2 separate regions of the Homo sapiens genome follow, and region 1 is linked to region 2. The links are contacts of gene promoters, found by promoter capture Hi-C in blood cells and fetal thymus (Javierre and others, 2016). All regions are on one chromosome and are shown on one strand. Each heading gives the region's core, a stretch centred on a gene start or on the middle of the fragment in contact. The rest is flanking DNA. Distances are from core to core; before and after follow the strand shown.

The links. Contacts are between HindIII fragments. The CHiCAGO score rates a contact against its expected background, and 5 or more counts as called.
Region 1: a fragment that was not itself captured here is called in contact with the fragment with the promoter of EPHX3 in region 2 in 4 of 17 cell types (activated CD4 T cells, total B cells, naive B cells and 1 more); the score reaches 5.9 in activated CD4 T cells.

The regions. Positions count from the first base shown.
Region 1 is chr19:15,397,104-15,400,177 of GRCh38, forward strand. AKAP8L (A-kinase anchoring protein 8 like) reads right to left here. Exons shown (of 14, transcript NM_014371.4): 9 at 2,199-2,307; 10 at 611-752; 11 at 417-522; 12 at 47-177. Among named protein-coding and RNA genes, the nearest start is that of AKAP8, 19 kb to the left of the region's middle. The HindIII fragment of the contact is 5,088 bases long and covers 1-3,074 here.
Region 2 is chr19:15,230,821-15,234,016 of GRCh38, forward strand. EPHX3 (epoxide hydrolase 3) reads right to left here and starts at 1,628. Exons shown (of 7, transcript NM_024794.3): 1 at 1,149-1,628; 2 at 956-1,041; 3 at 419-576; 4 at 142-270. The coding sequence starts at 1,391. RefSeq lists an enhancer at 1,378-1,879 and a silencer at 2,218-2,377. The HindIII fragment of the contact is 10,766 bases long and covers 1-3,196 here.

The DNA.
Region 1 (3,074 bases), core at 220-2,719, 170 kb after region 2:
ACTCAATCTACCCACAGGACAGAGGGAGAGCACTGTGGCCACTCACCCTGCGGTTCCGGTTGTGATCCATGGTCTTCAGATGCTTCTGGATGATCCCAAACTGCATGGGAATGAAGAGGTCGCAGGCTGCACAATGGGCTGCCTCCACCTTCTTCACAAAATGCTCCATGGCAATTTCTGTAGTGGGGAGGAGGGAGTCACCACTGGGCCCAGGTGCCTAAGATAGACCCAGGTGTTCGAGAAAAAAACCACACCAGCTCCTCCTCAACTCGCCCTGCCACTTCCACCTGGGCCTGAGCCAAGGCTGGTCTCCTGACCTTCCCTGGGGGAACAGAAGGGTGTCCTGACCCTGCACCGAAAATCAGGAGTGCAGGCTGAGGCCTTGCCTGGTGGGAGTGGGCTGAAAATCTCCTCACCCTGGGTCAGATCCTGGTCTCTGTAGATTTGCTGGATGAGGCCATCAAGGTCCTCCACGGTTTTTCGGAGCTCCTCTGTCTTCTTGGTCTTGTTAGTGACGTACTCCTGCAAGGAATATAAAGGTTCATGTGGGCCGCCTTATGTTCTCAGGGGTCCAAGAAACTAAGAGCGGCTGTGTTACTCCAAGGCTCACCTGCAGAAAGTCAGCCGTCTGCTTAGGGAGCTTGGTGCCTACGTACTTAAAGTGTTCCTTGTGGAACTTGCTGTCAAGATGGCTGGCCATCTCGTCCTCATAGAAGGTCCGGTATTTGCACAGAGAACACACAAACTGGATCCTGCCACAGGAAGGAAACGAGGGGCTGAGGCTGCAAGTGTCCCAGGGGATAGTGCTGCCGCCTCACCCAACCCAGACACAAGCCCTGAAACAGGCCTTGCTCACGGGCCTCTGAAGTACGGTCCCAGCAGAGGGACAGGCTGGGACCAGTGGGGTCGGGAGTAGAAAGGGCCAGAAAGTCTGCAGGCTGCAGTTACTGCAACGTAGGGGACAGGGGAGGAGCTCTTCCTTCCCACAGGCAGGAGGCTGAAGCCTGAGACAGCAGCTGCTGCAACAGGCAACGAGTCGCTGGAAAGTTGCTGGAGGGCCTCGCTACCAAGGCTGGGCAGGAGCGTGTGCACTTGGCCCAGGTGGGGACCGGAAGGAAGGATGCCCTGGCGTGAGCCAGGTGGCCCTGAGGTGCAGAGTGGAGTACGCAGTCCCGAGGCAGGGCCCGAAAAGGTGCTGCATCTTCCTTCTGGGATCTGGGGGACTCAAAGGCCCAGCCCATCCTCTGCTCAGAATGCTTGGGGGTGGTGTCGGGAGGGATGGGAGGCAGCAGGCCTGGGCACCTGCTGCCTCATCTTCCTCTTCCAAGAAGAGACCAGTCTGAGCTGGAAGGAGGGCGCCCGCTCGGCCTGCCAGAGGGCAGCCTGGAGTCACCTGGGCGAGGTGCTCTGTCTGGGCCTGGTGTCCACAGTAGAAGCCCGGGGTCTGGGGCCTGGGCCGGAGCAGGCCGCCGTGGCAAGGGGCGGAGGAGGCCAGCCGCCACCGAGACCTCGGGGCGGGTCCCTACCTCTGCCGGACGTCCTTATCTGGGCCACGGGGTCAGCTTTGTCTGGAGAGCCCAGGGGCCGGGCGCCGGCGAGGCTGAGGAAGGTCCAGCAAGAGCAAGAGTCTGAGGCGGAGGAGGCAAGCGCCAGTGCGGGAGCCCTGAGGGCAGACAGACCCGACCAAGGGGCGTGAAGGGCTCAGCCGCAGACAGGCCCGGCCTGACAGGGCCGGCGGGCAGGGCAGAAGGCAGGCCCGAGGCTGCCACAGCCCACAGGTGCTGCCATCTCTCCTGGGCACGGCGGTGGCCTCTTGGCAGCTAGCTGGGGCGGCACAGGCGCCTTGGACCTTGAGTCTCTGATGAGCTGGCCCCCTCCCTCAGGGGCATCAGGCCCCCAGTGCACCTTGGGGTTCGTGCGCCGAGTGACCTAGCGCCAGAGCTTCTGAGCAACGGTGCCGAGCGGTGTCAGGTCTCGGCCCACAGACGCCAGCGGTCGCCAGGCGGCCGCAGAGGGGCAGGGGATGAGTCAGGCCTTGGGAGCTGGGCCTGGCGGGAAGCAGGGTCCATGCACGGCCGAGCAGGTGGCGGCTCCCAAGGGAGGCCAGAGGGCGGCGAGCTGGCAGAGCTATGGCCCTGCTCTCCTGGCGGCAGCCCCACAGCGAGGCAGAGGCAGAGGGGTGGAGGGAAGCTGGTTACCTTTCCACCATGCGGTCTCGCTGCCGCTTTTTCTGCTTGTCCTGACTCTTCTTGCCTGCCTGCAACTTGCGCTTGGTCTGGCCATTTTCATCCTGGGTGGTTAGGGCCCCTGTGGGAGCAGATGGGCACTGTCACCAATTTGGCTCTGCCAGGACAGGGCAGGCCCTGCGGCCTCTGGCTGAATCACCCACTGTCCACTCCAGAGGGTCCATCGAGAATAGCTGTCCAAGCAAGGCCTCTGGCCATGAGCAGGGCTGGGTATCCTGGGCTGTGCAGGGAGTGGGTTTGGCCTAGGCCCCAAGGAGTGGGGGCCAGGCGATGACCCCTCCACTCTCCAGGACACCCATGCTCTCTGTGCAGTGGGCCAGGAGGAGGCTGGAAAGCAAAGAGGGGGTATCTTTGTGGGGACACTGGCACATGTTCAGAGGGGCCAGGTGGTGGGATGCAGGGAGGCTGCTCACATGGCCCTGCCCACCCCCAACCGGGCACCGCGGCAACAGTGGGCTGACGCTGGATTTGCTGTTAGGTACCTGCTGGCGCTCATCACTCAGGTGGGGGGACACGGAATCCCAACAGGGGCTGGAGAGGTGCTAAGGGAGAGGATACGCACACCAGAGCCGTAAAAACTGCACCGAGGGTCCCAGATCGGACACCAGCCACTGAGGACTTGGAACTGCGCGTTACTGAGGGACCGAGGGCAGGGGGCGTGCCTGGGGTTCCCCACACTTTTACTAGCTGCCCCCATCTGAAGGCAAAACCAGTGTGCTAGGCAGGGGTCACCACCATCCACAGCCTCCGCCTGGGAAGGAGGAGGAAGAGTGGGAAGGGGGTGGAGGCGGCGAAAAGAAAGCCCCCTGCCAGCACACACTCGGGCCC
Region 2 (3,196 bases), core at 378-2,877:
ACAACCGAAGGGACCTGGGTTGATTGCTGCACCCTCAGCCCCTGATGTGTTGACAGGTATACAGAGAATTGAAAACACAGACACATGTCCCTGCCCCCTTGCACATAAGTACATCCCAGTGTCCCGGACTCCCACACACACCTTGGTACACCGACATGGGGGCACCACTGACCACAACCATCCGCTCGACCAGGGATGGGTAGTAGATGGAGAAATGCCAGGCAAGGAGGGCACCCCAGTCATGGGCCACAAGGATGCACTTCGAGTAACCTGTGGGAATTCAAGGAGCTCGCATAAGTGAGGTGCCCAGTAGGACTGAAGCAGGGATGGGGGAAGTAGGTTCCAGCAAGGAGAAAGCGGGGGTATGCGTGTGTGCAGGATGAGGGAGGCCACGCCTAGGATGGGGGTATGTCTGCACCCAGGCCTAGGATGACATCTTTGATGTCCACCAGCAGCAGGTCGATTGTGTAGCAGTCCACATCCCGAGGTGCATCCGAGGGGCCATAGCCTCGCAAGTCCACAGCCACAACATGGAAGCGGCTCTGGAACTCCCGGAGCTGGTAACGCCAGGAGAACCTGCCAGGCGGGCGAGGGAGGGAGGCTGAGTCAGGGCCCTCAGGTTGCACCTGCACCCTACGCACATCAGCAACCATTGGCAAACCCTCCTTCCTGCTCTAAACTTCCCCTAAAAGGAGGATGGGGAATCCCAGGCAGAGGCAGAGGCTGAGGCTGAAGCCAGCTACACCCTGAATCCAGGGAACTTCAATCAACCTCAATACCCCTTTGTCCTGTCCCTTCAGGGCCTAGGGATCCTGGGTATGCTGGCTCAGTACCCCTATCCCCATCTATGTTCAGCTTGTCCCGATCTATACAGCCCTCCTCCCTGCCTCTTGGGAGCCCAAGCTCCACCTGCCCCCGAGTCCCGTGGGCCTCAGGCCCCTGGCCCCAGACGTACCAGTTCTCAGGGAAGCCGTGCAGAAACAGCATGAGGGGTCCGTTACCTCGTCCAGCCGAGACATAGTGCAGACGCAGGCCCGAGCTCTAGGGGGAGGGCACAGCCTGAAGCCTGGGGAACCCTCTCTCCCGAGGCTTGAACCGTCTCGACCCCACGCGACCCCGCAGCCCCGATAGCGCCCCCGTGCGATCACCTTGAGGTTCAGGAAACCGTGCTCACCCAGCGAGGGGTCGCTCAGGCAGGCGGGGGACGCGCTCCGACGGCGCCCGCAGCAGCCGCGCCGGGGCCGGCACAGCACGTGCGTGAGCGCTATGCAGCCGTAGACCGCCGCGGCCACCAGCGCCACCGAGAACACCAGGCTCCACATGAAGGCGCGCAGCAGCTTCAGCGACAGGCGCGACGGCGCCAGCAGCGCGGTCACCACCAGCTCCGGCATGTCGCCGCGCTCCGGGACCACGGCGGCGCTGCCGGCCAGGGGCACCTGCAGCAGCGGCGAAGCGGTGTCAGGGCTCAGGGGCCCATCGCCCTTGGCCTGGGGCCCCTCCGTGCCGTCGGGATTTGTGGGACGCGCTGAAGGAAGAGGCGGGCGGCTCCGACAGAAAACAGCCAGAGCGCACCACTCACCTGAGTGCCAGGTAAACACCTGGGCGCGACAGGGACAGGAAACAAGGGTAGGGTGCGGAGGCTGGGGAGGAAGAGGTTGGAAAGGGGGGAAATAAATGGGCGGGGCCTAGCAGGTCCTGTGCGGGGCTTAGGGCCGGGGCGGGGCCCAGGAAGACTCAGCAGCGGGTGGGTGAGGGTCTAAAGGCGGCAATTCCGGGCCGGGTGCGGTGGCTCACGCCTGTAATCCCAGCACTTTGGTAGGCCGAGGCGGGCGGATCACCTGAGATCAAGAGCTCGAGACCAGCCTGGGCAACGTGGTGAAACCCCGTCTCTACTAAAAATACAAAAATTAGCTGGGCGTGGTGGCGGGCGCCTGTAGTCCCAGCTACTTGGGAGGCTGAGGCAGGAGAATCGCTTGAACCCGGGACGTGGAGGTTGCAGTGAGCTGAGATCGCGCCACTGTACTCCAGCCTGGGTCACAACAGGGAAACTCCGTCTCAAAAAAGAAAAAAAAAAAAGGCAATTCCGAGCCCAGACAAACCTTAAGGAGGGGATCCTGGATCTTCAGTTAAGTGGGCGACACCTGGAGTGAGGGGCGGGGCATATGCAGAGTAGGTGCGGCCTACAAGCCAAAAAGGAGAAAGAGTTGGAATGGTGGGCCTGGCTTATGCGGGTGGGCGGGGAGAGGGTGGATCCTAGAGGAGGTGAGGCCTAACATTGGGCGAAGAAGGCGGGAGCCTGGGCCAATGAGCTGACGGTAGGCCGGGGAGGGGGCGGTGGGGTGGGGTGGGCAATGGGCAATGAGACGGAGGGCGGGGCCGGGACCTAATATGGCGGGTCAGGAGGGTCTGGAAGACGAAGAAGAGGGACAGGCAATGCCAGGTCTAGGACTAGGAGGGAGGCGCGGGCGGTATTAGCGGCTGGAGGAGGCTTCGGGAGGCCCGGCCGACGGCCGCCGCCTGGTGCTACCCACCCAGGGGCGCGCGACCCTCCCTTCGGTCTGGCTCCAAAGACCTAGCAGCACTGACTTCACCCAGCTGTGGTTCCAACGGCGGGTCCAGCGGCCTCGGCCCGGCGCCGTCCTCCTGCTGGCCCAACAGGCCCGCCAGCCCGCCCCTGTACGTCTGTGATTGGACGGCGGCGGCCACTGATGTTCAAGCGACAGGTCCTGGCCCGGGAGCCAATCTGCAGGTGTTGAGGCCCAGGCTCCGAGAGCGGGCCGAGGAGGCGTGGATACCCTGATTCCTAGGGGGCAGGCCTGGTTCCCCCGAGGAGGACCCGGCCTATGAATGACTGGAGTTCTGGGGTTCTGGCCGAAAGAGGAAGTGGGACAGGGCCGGGTGTGATGGGGCCTAGAGTCACAGAGCCTTGCGGCCCTGCTGTCCCTGCAAGAAGCCAGCTTCTGGCCAGGCGCGGTGGCTCACGCCTGTAATCCCAGCACTTTGGGAGGCCGAGGCGGGCGGATCACGAGGTCAGGAGATCGAGACCATCCTAACATGGTGAAACCCTGTCTCTACTAAAAATACAAAAAATTAGCCAGGCGTGGTGGCGGGCGCCTGTAGTCCCAGCTACTAGGGAGGCTGAGGCAGGAGAACGGCGTGAACCCAGGAGGCGGAGGTTGCAGTGAGCTGAGATTGC